6 separate regions of the Homo sapiens genome follow, and all the other regions are linked to region 3. The links are contacts of gene promoters, found by promoter capture Hi-C in blood cells and fetal thymus (Javierre and others, 2016). All regions are on one chromosome and are shown on one strand. Each heading gives the region's core, a stretch centred on a gene start or on the middle of the fragment in contact. The rest is flanking DNA. Distances are from core to core; before and after follow the strand shown.

Region 1 (2,700 bases), core at 92-2,591, 430 kb after region 3:
ATGAATGGAATCAGCAGAGGCGATTGCTATCATTTTTTATTACTGTTCAGTGTTTGATTTCTGCTGTAGCCCTGGCAGATGACAACAGATTGTTGGGTATGAACAAGAGAAGATTATTTTCTATCTGATCATTCTTTGTGTGTATTTGGGGTGACCGAAGGTTTTTAATATTGAAAAGTCAAACAGCCTGGACCATTTCACCCACCATCAGCTTAGCCTATTATTTACAGTCCCATTCCTTTAACTTTCCAGTTCTTGGAAAAAAAAAATCAACTATCGACTGTTTGGACAGATAATGTGGGAAGATGAAAGTGGGAGATAAATACACATCTTCCATTACTCTTAGATCTCTTCTGGAGTCTTCGGTTGACACACAGTCTCCTATTTGTGCCTTATGTGGGTGTCCCATGAGAAAGGTCCATGGATATGGCAAGTATTCTTTAACCATGTCATGCCAAGGATTTGGGCATAGCAAGGGACTAAGTGCCTGGAAGAAATATTTCAGCATCTGGGGAGTTCTTTAAAATACACAGATAATTACTTCGAGATTTCTATAATTTAACTGCAAGTGTTAAAAATATATTTCCGAGGATTGATTGGGTGCTAAGCCAGTGTTTACATCTGGGAGGTAGGTCAGGGACAGGGGGCGGTGACAAGGAAGAAAGGGACATTAAGACTGTGACTGGTCTGGGATTTTACCCCACTTGCCAGCCGACAAGTTAACCTGCCACAGTTTAATGGATGCTGGTGGACTCCTGGGTCAGAGACAAATAACTTTACTATATTCCACATTAGCAGTAACCAGAATATCAACATTTGTATCAGGGCAATGTGGAGAAGGCCAGGTAATGCCTGTGTGTGCAGTGAGTTGTGTTACAGAGGTACCCTGAGTTCAGGGAATCCAAATCTTTTCTAACAGGGAATAAGCATGGCTGGGCTTAACTCCAGAGGCAGATGCCATCTTTATGACGTGGGCAATAAACAACCTTGCTCTTTGCTCTGGAGGGAGGCACAATTTCTGTCTTCCAAGGCTGCTCTCTATACAAACATCCTGGGAAAGATAGTCTCCAGCAAAGGCAGTCAGACACATGGAGAATTGTCTTCCAAGAGGGACTTAGAAATATTTTGGCCATAAAGATGAAATTAACTCCCTCCCCGCCAGCTCCCTTAGGTGAGTTTACCCCTTGGGTCACAGTAGCTTTTTCTCTTTAACTTCCAAGGAAATCCAAGGAGACACATTTCTATCTGAACTCAAGGCACAAGTCAAACCCTTCCTGGGGTCAAAGGCTGAGAAGAATTGTGAAAGCTCTGTCCACTTCATGACCTGTATATCCCTTTTACTTTGCTGCTCATTGCAAGGTAGTTGAACATTCCGACTATTAGAAATGCTAATTTTACATCATCTTTAACCTCGAAGGGACTGCAGGTTGTTGCCTGGGTCAGTCCTTGACTGAGACAGACTTTACATTTTGGGCAACTAAGGTTTGGAAGAATTAAGTGTCGTCTTCAAAGTCATTCAATAAAGACCTAGTGGAACGATGATTCCAAGTGAGGTCCACGGAAATGGAAAATTTCCTGTCATTTTCCTCAAAACCAGAGTTTTGACTAGGGAATCTTTTTAGACAGGATCGACCAAGAAAGGTTGAGGGGAAACTAAGATGAAAGATGGGTGATGGTCCTCAGAATACCTTTCCTTAGCAGTTGTCCAGAAAGCAGTGTGTGAAAGAGATTGCCAGTTGCCTACCCAGTATCCATGCTCTCTTGTTTTTTTAGGATAAGATCCCTGTATATTTGAGTATGGCAATTCTTCCAACTTTTATTTAGTTTTTAATTTTAAAATTTCTAATTTTAAAGATTTTAATTTGTTTTTAATTGAAAAATAAAAATTGCATATATTTATCATGTAGAATGGGTTTTGAAATACGTGTCCATCATGGAATGGCTAAATCAAGCTAATTAACATATGTATTGTCTCACATACTTATCTTTTTGTGGTGAGAACATTTAAAATCTCTTTGAATTTTTCAAGATGCCCTGCTTAAAAAAACAAACATATTTGTTAGCTTTCCTTGAGGTTGGGGTGGTCAATGAGGTGTGAGTGGAAGTCACTTCCAGCAAAATTCCTTCAAGGGGATTCACCTGGCTGGCAGGAGACCCATTCCTTTCCCCGTCTCCCTTCTCCCTGCCTGGAACATGGCTAGGATAACAAGTCCCAGTGACAGTCCTGGGATGGTGAGGAGACCTCATGGATGGAATCTGAGTGGAAGATGGTGGAGCAGAAAGTGAGAAGAAGCCTGGGTCATCGCTAACACCATAGGGCACCACGCCAGCCCTGGACAATGCACTTTTGGATTTCTTCTGTGTGAGCGAAAAATGATGCCTCCTTTTTTTTTTTGCCACTGTATTTTTGGGTAGCAGGTGAATGTTAATTTTTAACAGATAGTGGGTGCTTACTGATACCTAACTGTGATCCCTGAATGTTCATTGTATCCAGTCGAGTTTCTTAGTTGCAAGTAACAGAAAGTTTGGCAACCTTTAGCAAAAAAAGGACTAATGAACTTTTTAAGAAGGTTTACAGGGTCAAATAATGGAAGTGATGGCTGAGGAACTTGGAGCAGGTGGGCACCAGATTGTTCCAGAACATCTTATAGTGGGCTCTGCTCATTGTTCTCTCCAGGGCTCCACAGGAATCAATGGATC
Region 2 (2,700 bases), core at 74-2,573, 350 kb after region 3:
AGGCTCTAGGGAAGAATTTGTTCCCTGACTCTTCTAGCTTCTGGTGGCTCCAGGCATTCCTTGGCTTGCAGTGGCATTGCTCTAACCTCTGCCTGTCTTGACATTACCTCTTCCTCTTCGGTAGGTGTAATCTGCCACTGCCTCTTTCTCATAAGGACATTTATCATTAGACTTAGGGTCTACCTGGCTAATCTAGGATAATCTCTTTATCTGAAGATCCTTCATTACATCTGCAAAGAGTCTTTTTCCAAATAAGGTAACACTCATATTCATATTGATGAATAAGGCCCCCTAAAATGATGTATCAACATCCTAATCCCTGGAATCTTATTTATCACTGTGAATACGAGTGTTGCCCATATCTGTTTACATAGCATCTGTGTGTGTATTAGTATGTCCTTGCACTGCTGTAAAGAAATACCTGAGACTGGGTAATTTATAACAAAAAGAGGTTTGATTGGCGCACAGTTCTGCGGGCTGTGCAGGAAACATGGTGGCATCTGCTTGGCTTTTGGGGAGGCCTCTGGAAACTTACAATCATGGCAAAGGCAAAGGGGGAGCAAGGCATCTCACATGGTGGGAGCAGGAGCAAGAGAGAGGTGGGGAAAGTGCTATACACTTTTAAACAACCAGATCTTGTGATAACTCACTCACTATCATGAGAACAGCAGCAAAGGGATGTTGCTAACCCATTCATGAAGGACCACCCTCATGATCTGGCCACCTCCCACCAGGCTCCACCTTCAACATTGGGGATTACAATTCGACATATCAGTGTGGTAGAGTGCCTTGTCCTCAATTCTTCACCCCTCCCTGTTTCCCATTGACATGTGGGTTTGCAGTTCCTCCTCCTAGAGGCAGAATATTGCCTCATCCCACTGAGATTGGACTTGGCCACATAACTTGCTTTGACCAATTGGATGTTATTAGATATGATGTGAGCAAAAGCTTTACATGTGCTTCAGAATTGAGCCTGTGCTCTTGTGCTTCAGCTATTGCCATGAAAAGAACACAATCCAGCTAGTCCACAGCTCCAAAGTGGTTTAGAGAGACATGGAGATGGCATGGGTTCAGCCTGCAGTTTGAAATCTGGCCTAGCTAAGCCTAACCTAGATCAGCCAATTGATGGGTAACCTACTGGTACCTAGGTAAGACTCATTGGTTGTTGTTTTAGTCCACGCCACTCTATTTTGGAATGGCATATTGCAGCGATGGCTGACTGATACATTCTGCCTCTGTACTTGTCATAGACACCTCCCCTCATCCACATCCCCACTGTTACTGCTACATTACTTTTCAGCGGTACCAGCAGCACTAGCAGGACTTACAGCCCTAGGTGCTAAGGTCACTCCTTGCCATAGGGCTGGGTTCCTGAGGGGCATGCCCAGGCCTTGGGAGAGAGGAAGATGGGTCCTTTTCCTATCTTGCACCATGCTGCAACTGCCCCCTCTCGCAATCTTCCCAGGAGAGACCTAGCATCTGCATATAGCCAGTTTTCTGAAGATGAGCCTGCAGATATAGCCACCCCCTCACCCCGTCTGTAGGTGTGGCATCTCCCTAGCTGGTTATAGACATGGATATTTGCAACTTGAATTGAACCAGCCAATTTAAATTGACTTCCATCCTTTCTACCTCTCTAACTGCCCACACCCAGGCCTTTGCTTCTAGCAATATTGAGGGGAATGGCATTATGGCAGAGAAGCTTTTTGGAGACACAAAAGGGGACAGCCAATCTAAATTCCTGTGACTTCGGTAATTAGCAGCCAGCCAGGGTGGCCACCAGTGGTTTTCTCTGAGTGGTAGAATTATGGAGGTTTTAAAAACAGTTCTTTGTTCTGCGGATTTTCTAAGTCCTCCAAATTGGATATTTTTCTTGAATCTGAGAAACAATAAATGTTAATAAAAACCAATGAAACAGCCCCACTGCTTTGAGTGAAGCCCTGAGGGCTGGGACGAGTTGGGAGGCAGGCAGGGTGGCTGAGACAGTAGATGAAACCATAGCCAGGGGAGTCAGCACCCAGCGCCTCTTGCAGCAGCAGCCCACCACTGTGGAGTTCACCTCGTCACTTGGTGCTGGCCTCCCCTGAGGGTCAAGGCTTCTAACCTTAGCTGGGCAGCTTGCAAAGAAGGTATGGGGGATACCTGAGGACCAGTGAGGGAGTAGGACCAAATCAAACTAAATGCATCAGCACTGTAGGGGTTCCTTGCTTTGTGTGGTAAATGGATTTCTGAAAAATCATGCGAGTTACAATTCTAAATCTAAAACCATTTTACATGTGCCTGGGGAGTTTCCTGAATAAAAGGATCCTATTGTGAAGCCTTGAGTTAAGTGAATAGTCCTTCTCCATTTTGTCTTTGGCATAAATCTGGATTTTCACTTAGAGTTTTTTGGGTTTCCATGAAAAGGCAGATGATAGGAGTTCTGGAAAAGCATATCGTGGAACTTCTGCTTAGGGTTTATGGCCAGTGGCATCATCTCTAATTGGATTATGGCTCCTGTTTAAGTCCCAGTCCTGGACCTAACATGCTATGTCCTTTGCATGTCCTGCCTGGAATGCTCTCCACCTAGATATGCCTATGGCTCCCTCCCTCTCATCCTTAAGGCTTGTGCTCAGATGCCACTCATCTTCTTAGTGAAACCTTGCACATCATCCTATTTAAAATTGTAATTCTCCAGTACCCTCTTGCCCTTTTGCCTGC
Region 3 (2,700 bases), core at 95-2,594:
ACAGTTTTATTAACTTCCTATTACAGGAAGAAATGTTCAAAGAGAACCAACGTTTTGGGTAAGCTTTCTGAGCACCAGATGTCCACAGTTTTTAGAAACTGGAGATGCTGGGTATAAGCTAACTACAACTTTCCTTTTGTAAAACATCATCAAAAAATTCACCAGCTTCCTGTTTCTAAAAACCAGATTCAGGATACCAGGTTACAGGAGTTTGACACTGACAATATAATAATATCAAATTTCTTGTTACAGATTAGAGTTAGGAACAGGAAACAGAAGACCTAGGGTCCAATCTGTTAACAAAATATACTTATTAAATAGATAAGTGGCCTTTATTTCAATCTTACTTTACCTCTAAAATGATCTAAGATTCTTCTAGCTATAAAATGGCATAACTCTGCCACAATGTCTACCTTGTATCTAGACCTATACTATCTGTAAGGGTACACTGATAGTTTATGTAATTAAGCAGATTAAGAGTACACAAAAATAATTGCCCTAGTTTTTACAAGGTAACTTAAGATCTGTATGAAACAATTAAGTTTCTGTCACTTTACAGCTACCTGTTGGAATCCTCTCCTTTAGAGCAGGAGGGTGCTGGATTTTGTGTTTACACCAAAATAAAACCAGACATGTTTAAGGCGCTTACTGAACAATTTAAAGAAAAAGATAACCCTGGCCAGAGTAGAGAGATACAGTCACACAATGAAGCCTGAGGGCAACAGAAGGAGATTAAATTGTGTGAAGGACAAAAAAGTTGCATTCATAATTAGTACTATTAATATTTCAGTGACTCTTCCTCATTTAGTATTCTAAGATGACCTTACTTCTCATGTTGCTTACCACAAACTCAGAACTCCTTATAGAAAAATTAGGGAGCCAGACGGAAATTAAGGCTTAACAGTACTACAGCACACATAACTTGTAGGATGGTTTCAAACTTTGATTTCTGAAAAGCACCGAAGGATCACTGGGTGTTATGAATTATCCACGTGATTTGGGGTCACTTCACCTCAAATGCATTCTCGGTAACTCCTATTACCTACCTTACCGGGTCACTGAGAGGGAGAAAGTAAATAAAAATGACATGTGTTCTTTAAAGCTGTCACATGGGAAATGGTCATTAAACATATTGGCAGATGGTTTTGCTAAGTACTGTCATTACTTGCTAAAGCATTAGGAACACGAGGGCTGAGTACATATCGATTACTAGTGCTTATTAAAATTTTCCCAGGGATTGTGCATTACGTGCAGGACGTGCCTAACCCAGAGAGACTCAAGTGTGACGCCGCGCTCCTACTTCCGGGGCGGCTGGTTCTTCCCGTCCTCCCCACCCCGGGGACACGCTTCTAGTAGGCCAAACTCCCAGGTGACCCCCGCAAGAAACGCGGTCCGGAGAGGGTCTGGCCCCACTGCTGGGGCAAGGGCTCTAGGCGCCCGGACCCCACGCCCGCAGCCTGCGGAGAACGTGCCGACAAGGACCTGTAGGGCCCCACTCCCCCTCCTCCCTCCCTCGGCGCAGCCCGGCCCAGGGGTCTGTCCTCCCAGGCCCAGGAAAGGAGGAAACCCACTTCCGCCGCGTCCATGATCTCCCGCGGCTTCTCCTGACTCTTGCGGCTGGCGCTGGCGCTGGGCATCGGGACACGGAACTGGGCAGTGGACACCACCCTCCCTCGCAGGCTTCCGTAAGGCAGGCCAAAGGGGCTTCTCCCTCCCTCCCAGTCTCCGCCCTCCCGACCCTGGGGTCTCAGCACACGCGCTCGGACTCCGCGTGGAGGTGCGGCTCCAGAAAGATCGCGAGAGCTGCGGCTATCTCGAGATCCCGGAGCGCTGGCGGCCGCGCGCAGGGTCTCCTCCCACTCTTGCCCCGCCCCTCCGGGAGTTTTCCCGGAGTTGGAGGGAATTCCCGGGAATTCGCGGTAGTTTCGCTGGATTGGCTCTGGGGGCGGGGGCAGGGGTTACCAGGTGGCTGGCTGTAGACCTGGGCGAATGCCAGCTCTCTTCAGCTTCGTCCCAACTGCGACTTCTGCTCCATTCTTCTAACAGCCCTTTCAACTCCGCTCGGCTGTAACCGCAGACTCGTCACTAAAACACCCACCTAAGCGCGGGCCTTGGTTTCTCCTCTCTTGGACTTTCCCGCCTTCTCTCTTCCCCTGGGCGACGTAGCTGCTTGGGGACGGAGGAGGCCTCTTCGCAATCCATTGCCCTGCTTGTTGGGACAGAGGAGTGCAGTTGGCTTGCCAAGGCAGCATGGGTTACCAGTCCCTGTGTAAGTGAGGTGTAAATACAGTGGCAACGACAACAAGAAACGCATACAATTGCATTGATTGCCTGGATCTGTTGCAGTGTTAGGGACAGTGCATAGTGTTGGTTGCCCAATGGGCGAATATCCCCAAGTTAGGCTTTTTTAAAAAACTGATTTTTTAAAAAAGCTATCATTCATGAGTTTTGAATCGAAATTGAAAATAATTTGGAGATTTGGTTTAATACTGTTTCCCCTGCCAGAGTTTGCACTCCGTCGTTTCAACTGACTTGGTAGTGTCTTAGTCTGGCACAAAGTGTTAAGGGGTGCACATAGATCCCAGCGCAAGTGAAAGGCTCTCTCTGGAGGCTCCCCCATGGAGTAGTGAGAAGACAGCCATGGTCCTTGCTTGCCTGTAGCTTTCCTTCTAATTGCAGGTGGTATGAAATTTTATTCCC
Region 4 (2,700 bases), core at 111-2,610, 300 kb after region 3:
TGTGTATTTTCTCATGAAGTGACATATATGCAAAATTTTACATGTAATTTCAGCCTATAATGTCCCCTTGTTAGTGAGGCCCTCTCTGGCTACCCTATCCAAAATGGCAACGGTGCCCCTCCTCACTACAATTTCCTTCCTCCTTGCCTACTTTAAGCTTTCTCCATAGCCTTTATCACTATCTGTGTGAACATCCACAAGTCCCTCAGGAGGGTAGAGTTTCTCAACCTGTAGTTCCTGGACCACATTTACTTAATCAAGATAACCGGGGTGGGACTCAGGATCTGCATTTTCAGAAACTCCCTGAGTTTCTTTTGAACACTGAAGTTTTCCAGCCAGTGAGCTGGGTCCCTGGATTCTTGATTTACAGTTGCAGGGTCAAGTCTGTTGCTGTCTTTCTTAGAGCACCTCCTTGCTCTTCCAGATCCTGCCCTTTAGACAGGAATCTGTCTCCCTCAGCCTACCAGAAGTCTCAGGTAAACTCTCTAATGTTCCAGAGAAACCCCAGGTATTTTCCAAGTTACCTCAGGGGTATGTGGGAATGTGGCTATCTCAATTGTGTGGGTTGGGGGGCTTGGACTAAGGCCTCTGATCTAATGAAAATTATCTCCTTTCCCTCCCCTCTAGTGGTACTTGGAATTCTGTCACTGTCCAGTCATTCTTAAACTCTTTGGCGCCCACCTCTATCATGACAAATAACAAAGACCGTGAACAGCGGGCATATTTGATTCCATCTCTCTGCTCGAAGTTTTCCATTGGCTTCCAGTGGCCTACAGGGGGATGTATATCCCTATTTTTAAAGTTACCAGAAGGCACTTTGAGATGTGGCTGCCATTCACCTTCCAGCCTTGGTCCTAGTGTCTTTACTAAACTCTCCTGCAGGACTAAACTGCGTGTATTTCCTGGAGCTGCCACTTCCTTTCTTGGATATCCTGGATTGTTTCTTTCATCTCTTTACACAAGCCACTCCTTTCCCAAAACTCTCCAATGACTCTCTAGCTGACTCAGAGTACAAGCCAAGACATCACGTGGCTGAACGCGGTGGCTCACACCTGTAATCCCAATAGTTTGGGAGGCCAGGGCAGGAGGATTGCTTGAGCTCCAGAGTTCAAGACCAGGCTGGGCAACATGGCAAAACCCCATCTTTACAAAAAATACAAAAATTAGGTTGAGGTTGCAGTGAGCTGAGATTGTGCCACTGCACTGCAGCCTGAGCAACCCTAGTGAGACCCTGTCTAAAAAAAAAAAAAAAAAAAAAATTAGCCAGGTGTGGTAGCATGTGCCCGTAGTCCCATAGGTACCAGCTACTTGGGAGTCTGAGGTGAGAGAATAGCTTGAGCCCAGGAGGTAGAGGATGCAGTGAGCTGAGATTGTACCATTGCACTCCAGCTTGGGTGACAGAGCAAGACCCTGTCTCAAAACAAAACAAAACAAAAAACAAAAAATCAAACATTAAAGGCGTCATGTTACCTATAGGCTCTACTCGATCTGTCCATCACCCTCCTTGGCTTTGTGCCCTCATCTTCTGCTATTTCCCTGTTTTGTTTTCTGGGGCTGCTGTAACAAAGCACCACAGACTAGGTTGTTTAAACAACAGAAAGTCATTGTCCTGCAGTTCTAGGGGCTAGAAATGTGAAATCAAGGTGTCAGCAGGGCCATGCTCCCTCTGAAACTTGAAGGGAAACATCCTTCCTAGCCTCTTTCTCACTTCTGGTGTTTGCCGGCTCTCTTTCCCTTCCTAGGCTTGTAGCTGAGTCATTCCAGTCCCCTTGGCCTTCTCCCCATGCACCTGCACATGGTCATCTTCATATGAGGACACGAGTCATCCTGGATTAGGGGCCCACCTTACTCCAGTATGACCACGACTACTTACATTTGCAATGAGCTATTTCCAAAAAGGTCACCTCCTGGGGTAGTGGGGATTAGGATGTCAAAATATCTTCTTTTGGGGGATAACATCCCTCCTCTTTCATTCTGCTTCAGTCACACTGACCTAGATAGAGTTGTCAGATTTAGCCAAATAAAAAAAATAAGATGCACAGTGAAATTTGAATTTCAGATAAATAATGAATACTTTTTAGTATAAATGTGTCTCAAATGTTTCATGGAGTTTTTTTTTTTTTTTTTTTTTTTTGCCGAAGTATGTGACCATGCACTATTCGGGATGTACTTATACTAAAAAAGTTATTTATTGTTCATCTGAAATTCATATGTCACTGGGTATCCAGTGTTATGTCTGGCAACTTTTACTTTTTATTCCTTGAACACACCAAGCATGCTCCCACCCGAGGCCTTGGCATTTGCTATCCCATCAGCCTTGAATGCTCTTTCCTGAGATGTCTGGGATGCTCATTCTCTGATGAACTTCAGCAGGGCCTTTCTGGATCCCCTACTCCCTATACACATACCTCCTCTCCTCCTTTTTTGCTTTAATTTTTTTCCCTTATCCCTATAGGGCCATCAATTTCCATTATATGTATATTTCCCCCTTTATCCCTTATCACTAACAGGCTATATATTTTACCTACGGATCATGTTTATTGTCTGTCACCCCCAGGAGAATTTAAGCTTGAAATACTTATTCATTGCTGTCTCTCCAGGGCCTAGAACAATGCCTGGTGCACAGTTGATGTTCAGTAAATCTTCAGTGAATGAATAAAGAGATAAATAAACCCTTTCATTGTCACTCAAGTACTGGAA
Region 5 (2,700 bases), core at 7-2,506, 330 kb after region 3:
AAACTGAAGGTTCAGATTCTTTGAGCATGATGGCCTGGGTTCACTATAGTGTTAGCTGAGGGGGAGGGAAAGCTAAAACATGTGATTCAGAAAGAAGATGAAAAATATCAGATATGGCTTTAGGATCAGCTGCATCAGCAGGAACTAGGATCTCTACCACAGAAGCTTGGGTTTGAAGGTTTTGATAGAGGTTTCAGCTGGCCACCACCTTGAAGATTCTGTGATAGTTTGGACTTAACATAGGGTTGAGCAAAGCTGGGCAGTGTGAGGGGTGGACTGCACTGGGCAGCTTATGTGCCCTGCTTCATATCATGTTGGACCACCTTTTCTCTCCTTTCCCTTCCCCTTCCTTCCCTTTCCCTTTCCCTTCCCCTTCCCCTTCCTTCCCTTTCCCTTCTCTTCTTTCTCTTTTCTTTTCTTTTGTTTTTTTTCTTCCCCCTCCCCTCCCCTCCTCTCCCCTTCCCTTCCCTCCCCTCCTCTCCCCTTCCCTCCCCTCCTCTCCCCTTCCCTCCCCTCCTCTCCCCTTCCCTCCCCTCCTCTCCCCTTCCCTCCCCTCCTCTCCCCTTCCCTCCCCTCCCCTCCTCTCCCCTTCCCTCCCCTCCTCTCCCCTTCCCTCCCCTCCCCTCCGGTCCCCTCCCCTCCTCTCCTCTCCTCTCTCCTCTTTCCTCTCCTTTCCTTTCCAGAAGGCGTCTCACTCTGTTGCCCAGGCTGGAGTGCAGTGGCACAATAATGGTTCACTGCAACCTCCACCTCCCAGACTCAAGCAATCCTCCCACCTCAGCCTCTGGAGTAGCTGGAACCACAGGTGTGTACCACAATGCCCGGCTAAATTTTGTATTTTTTTTTTTTCATAGAGACGGGATTGTGCCATGTTGTCCAGGCTGTTCTCAAACTCCTGGGCTCAAGCGACACACCTGCCTCGGCCTCCCAAAGTGCCAGGACTATAGGTGTGAGCTACCGCACCCAGTCTTGGCCCACCTTTTTAATTTCAACATTGCTATAGCAACCAGCTCATGCAGGTATATTCTGAGAACACCTTTCTTCAAACATTCCTCACTTCTCTTGCTTTCTGCCATGGGACTTCTCGGCTACTGTGATGGGAGATGTCCAGCCATTCTGATACATTAAAAAACCTGGACAGCAGTGGCTCACGCCTATAATCCCAGCACTTTGGGAGGCCGAGGTGGGTGGATGACCTGAGGTCAGGAGTTGAAGACCAGCCTGACCAACATGGAGAAACCCTGTCTCTACTAAAAATACAAAATTAGCCGGGTGTGGTGGCACATGCCTGTAATCCCAGCTACTCAGGAGGCCGAGGCAGGAGAATCGCTTGAACCCAGGAGGCGGAGGTTGCGGTGAGCCAAGATCATGCCATTGCACTCCAGCCTGGGCAACAAGAGCAAAACTTCATCTCAAAACAAAAACAAAAACACCTGGACATTTGAAGGTATTACTACCCTTCGGGGCAACCCTAGACCAGGGATGACAGAACCCTGTGGATAAATGCCCCTATATTCTTTTCTTCAGATGGACATATCCAAGGTAGATTTTATACAGATCCTCAGAGAATCCCCAGTGGGACTGGTCCTCAGGAATTCATAGAGATGATCAGCTTGAAAATGAATGCCAGTATAGGCTTTCCCTTTCCCTCTGCTCTGTTCTTCCTAGTCAATCATGCCTGTTTCCTGGGATCACTTCCTAACATAAACTACCTGTGTGCAAGTCCCTGTCTCAGGCTCTGAATTTGGTGAAACTCAGACAGAGAGAGATAAAAACTGTTCTAATTCCCTATCCTGAATATATTGGCTTTTCCCTCCTGCAAATTGTGTGTGCGTGTAACATAAATTTATAACAATAATTAATAGATTTATAAAATTAATCAGCTTTACAGTCAAGGATTGAGAGGCTTGGTTCTGAAATCTGTGTGATCATTGAAATTGCTTGGAGACGCCCTCAAACCTACCATGGCAGAATCTCCGGGGTTTTGGTCCAGAACCTTACATTTTCTTAAAATTCTATGATTCATTCTATACCAGCTGTATTCCAGAACTACTGATTGGGATGCTCTAAGTCTGTTCCAGTGACAGAGGATTAAGAACTCATGAACTCCCAGACATTGTCAAGCAAGAGGATGATGTATAGGACCCTAAACTTTCTTTAGGCAGAGAGAGTCAGAGGAAAGGCAGGTGCACATGAGATTTTCAAAAGGCTGTGTGCTCTGTCAGATGCCTCACAACATTTCCTGGTGTTACATGGGGTGGCTGATATTTTGGTTTGGCTTGATAAAATACTTTGTGAAGTTGCTGGCTTGTTCCAGTTTTGAAATTGTCATGGCATTCATTGCTTCAAAAGCTTCTTCTCTTTTCTCTGTAGATGACTATGCTCTCTTCTGCATCTGAGAGCCCTCTATTTAGTTCTAAAGGCATTCAAGTTTACAACACACGGAGAAAACAACAATCATGCTACATTTTCACTTGTTGAAAGTTCTGAGAATATAAGTTTTTAATGTGTAAATTCTATGACATTTGAAAATTCTTTTTTTTTTAAAGATATTAGCTTAAGAATCACAAGAGATGGTCTCCCTTGATCCTGCCTTAAAGAGGCCTTCAGAGCATTTTATAGACAAGGCCATCTTCCCACTAGGCTATGGCTACAGTGCCAAGGGCCCTCAGGCTTTACAAGGTCTGTGAAAACGGTGCA
Region 6 (2,700 bases), core at 96-2,595, 370 kb after region 3:
TTTCATTTTTCTTGGATATATACCTAGGGGTGGAATTTCTGGGTCCTGTGGTGACTCTAGGTTTAACTTTTTGAGAAACTGCCACTATTTTCCAAAGGGGCTGCACCATTTTCCATTCTCACCAGCAGTATATGGGGGTTCGTCGTCCACATCCTCTCAATGCTTATTATTGTCTGTCTTTTTATTGTAGCCATCTTAGTGGGTGTGAAGTGGCAGTCCTCTCATTTTGAGAATGAATAAGCTGAGGGCAGAGAGGAGCTGTGACCTGTTTAGCATCATTGTCTGTCAGTCTCTGGACAGCAAATCTCTGTAACTCCCAATCTGATGCATGTTCCCATCAGAACAGGCATCCTTTCTCAACATTGAGAAAGGAGCAAAGGCAGAGCAGGAAGTGAGGCTGCAATGAAGCCAGGCTTCCCCCACCAGCTATTATGATAGAACTCAATGGCTCACCATGAGTGGAGGATGGCAGCAGTGGGCCTCGGGGGAGGGGGTTCCCACCCAGTGGGCAGTCTGGCTGGGGTTTGCCCAGGCCCTTGCAGGCCTCACTTTACTTTCTAAACTTTTCTTTGATGGCAGAGAGCTTCAACAATGACATAAATTGGCTTCACCTACACATGATTGAGAACCTATTCAAAACTAGTCATAGTTTTACACGTTGGAGCCAAGATAGGAGGTAAATAAAATGGGGCTGAAATTCAACATACAAATGTATAGTCTCAATATGATTCTGTCAAGTGTTGACAACAGAAGGTAGAAGTAGGGCACAAAGGGAACACAGACAAGGGGCTCCAACCCATTCTGGAAAAGTGGAGCAGGAGCTGAAGGTTGAAGGCCTTAAAGTGATGGTGGGAAGCTTGCCAGGCTTGCTCTGCAGACAGAGGTGGGTGAAGTATACAAGCAACTTCCCTGGGAAGGGAGGGAATGGCTTTGAAAGTCAAGTAGCAAGTCCAACAGCCCAAGGCTGCAGTGCCTTGGTGGGTCTCAACAGAGCTTTGCACAGCTGAAAAAGCATTCCTAGCAATGGGCCTATCAGCTTTATATGTGCCGGACCTATAAGCAACCCAACACATAGAATGCAAGCTGAGGACTTTTGGACAAGTGCTAAGAGGTGGAGTGAGAAAGGCGAGCATGGACTAGCTGAGAAAATAACCCTCACAGCCACGAATCAAGCTCTGTGCTTGAATGTGTACCTTATGGAAAGTATGAGGTATCAGGCTGGCTTTGTTGGTAACTCCTCCCCGACATGCAGCATGACTATTTTTCAGTTATGAAGGAAATATTATATCCCAAACAGCCCTACAAATAAAGCCTACTTTGATTCATCTTTTCCATCTTGGTTTGCATAATGCACCATTTTTTTTTTTTAAACATCAGTGTGGTTTCTGCCCAGGTGGGCCTCAGCAAATTGTGAAATAGCTGAGGTTTCTTCCTCAGACCATGTAAGGCTATTATAACTCCACCTCCTCCTGATATACTGTGGAGAGTGATGTATACAGGTGTAATGTGCCCTAGGTGCTGTTACTGTAAAGTTGAATACATTTTTTATTTTAAACCTTGGTTTTAAACTCTTTACTCTTGCAAGTTGTGTTTCCAGTGCTTTGTGCTGGTAGAGATATCTGCTGAGTTCGCTTTGAGGGTCTTTTATATGAAAATCTAAGATCGGTTGACTAGTGACCTTGGCATGCAAACATGAATGTTTGCAGCAAATTTCAGCTGATATTCAAAGTTATTTCTAGTGTAAGAATTCTGGCAGGCTCTAGAATTTATACCTAGGAACATGTAGGAATGGTAATTTTTGAGTTATAAGAGGGTGAGAGAGTAGGAACCTGTCTAAAGCTTTTAAAATAAATTGGTTAGATTATATATTACCAATTGATAAAGAAATATTTCTTAAGACATTTAGTCACATTTTAAGTAGGTGAGGAGATGGTAATTGTTCATATCACAGAATGTTATTTTTAAAAATTGGGATTGCTAGGTGGGTGCCCCAGGTCTCTAAACTAGTGGTCCCTAACCTTTTTGGCACCAGGGACCAGTTTCATGGAAGAAAATTTTTCCATGGACCCAGGGAGGGGGGATGGTTTCAGGATGATTCAAGGGCATTACATTTATTGTGCTTTCTTTTCTTTTCTTTTTTTTTTTCTTTTCTTTCTTTTTTTTTGAGACAGGGTCTCTCTCTGTCACCCAGGCTGGAGTGCAGCCAATCTCGAGATTGCACCAACCTCCACTCACTGCAACCTCTGCTTCCCAGGTTCAAGCAATTCTTCCACTTCAGACTCCCACATAGCTGGGACCACAGGCATGCACCACTATGCCCAGTGAATTTTTGTATTTTTAGTAGAGACGGGGTTTCACCCCATTGGCCAGGCTGGTCTCAAACTCCTGACCTCAAGTGATCTGCCTGCCGTGGCCTCCCAAAGTGCTGGGATTGCAGGCGTGAGCCACTGCGCCTGGCCTGTGTAAATGAAATAATTATACAACTCACCATCAGGTAGAATCAGTGGGAGCCCTAAGCTTGTTTTCCTGCAACTAGATGGTCCTGTCTAGGGGTAATGGGAGACAATGACAGATCAGCAGGCCTTAGATTCTCATGAGGAAAGCACAACCTAGATCCCTCGCATGTGCAGCTTTGCGCTCTATGAGAATCTAATGCCACCTGTGATCTGACAGGAGGCAGGGCTCAGGCAGTAGTGCTTG

The links. The method cuts DNA at HindIII sites, captures the fragments that hold promoters and counts their contacts. A CHiCAGO score of 5 or more calls a contact.
Region 1: a fragment that was not itself captured here is called in contact with the fragment with the promoter of DARS1-AS1 in region 3 in 1 of 17 cell types (naive B cells); the score reaches 5.2 in naive B cells.
Region 2: a fragment that was not itself captured here is called in contact with the fragment with the promoter of DARS1-AS1 in region 3 in 7 of 17 cell types (non-activated CD4 T cells, monocytes, neutrophils and 4 more); the score reaches 9.3 in non-activated CD4 T cells.
Region 4: a fragment that was not itself captured here is called in contact with the fragment with the promoter of DARS1-AS1 in region 3 in 1 of 17 cell types (activated CD4 T cells); the score reaches 5.3 in activated CD4 T cells.
Region 5: a fragment that was not itself captured here is called in contact with the fragment with the promoter of DARS1-AS1 in region 3 in 2 of 17 cell types (neutrophils and activated CD4 T cells); the score reaches 6.8 in neutrophils.
Region 6: a fragment that was not itself captured here is called in contact with the fragment with the promoter of DARS1-AS1 in region 3 in 5 of 17 cell types (non-activated CD4 T cells, total CD4 T cells, naive CD8 T cells and 2 more); the score reaches 11.6 in non-activated CD4 T cells.

The regions. Positions count from the first base shown.
Region 1 is chr2:136,417,670-136,420,369 of GRCh38, forward strand. No RefSeq gene overlaps it. Among named protein-coding and RNA genes, the nearest start is that of CXCR4, 300 kb to the left of the region's middle. The HindIII fragment of the contact is 7,220 bases long and covers 1-2,700 here.
Region 2 is chr2:136,334,325-136,337,024 of GRCh38, forward strand. No RefSeq gene overlaps it. Among named protein-coding and RNA genes, the nearest start is that of CXCR4, 220 kb to the left of the region's middle. The HindIII fragment of the contact is 754 bases long and covers 947-1,700 here.
Region 3 is chr2:135,983,832-135,986,531 of GRCh38, forward strand. DARS1-AS1 (DARS1 antisense RNA 1) reads left to right here and starts at 1,345. Exons shown (of 4, transcript NR_110199.1): 1 at 1,345-1,685. DARS1 (aspartyl-tRNA synthetase 1) reads right to left here and starts at 1,795. Exons shown (of 16, transcript NM_001349.4): 1 at 1,572-1,795. The coding sequence starts at 1,637. RefSeq lists a silencer at 1,432-1,491 and an enhancer at 1,542-1,641. The HindIII fragment of the contact is 7,953 bases long and covers 62-2,700 here.
Region 4 is chr2:136,284,831-136,287,530 of GRCh38, forward strand. No RefSeq gene overlaps it. Among named protein-coding and RNA genes, the nearest start is that of CXCR4, 170 kb to the left of the region's middle. The HindIII fragment of the contact is 2,411 bases long and covers 156-2,566 here.
Region 5 is chr2:136,314,140-136,316,839 of GRCh38, forward strand. No RefSeq gene overlaps it. Among named protein-coding and RNA genes, the nearest start is that of CXCR4, 200 kb to the left of the region's middle. The HindIII fragment of the contact is 2,187 bases long and covers 164-2,350 here.
Region 6 is chr2:136,358,317-136,361,016 of GRCh38, forward strand. No RefSeq gene overlaps it. Among named protein-coding and RNA genes, the nearest start is that of CXCR4, 240 kb to the left of the region's middle. The HindIII fragment of the contact is 983 bases long and covers 855-1,837 here.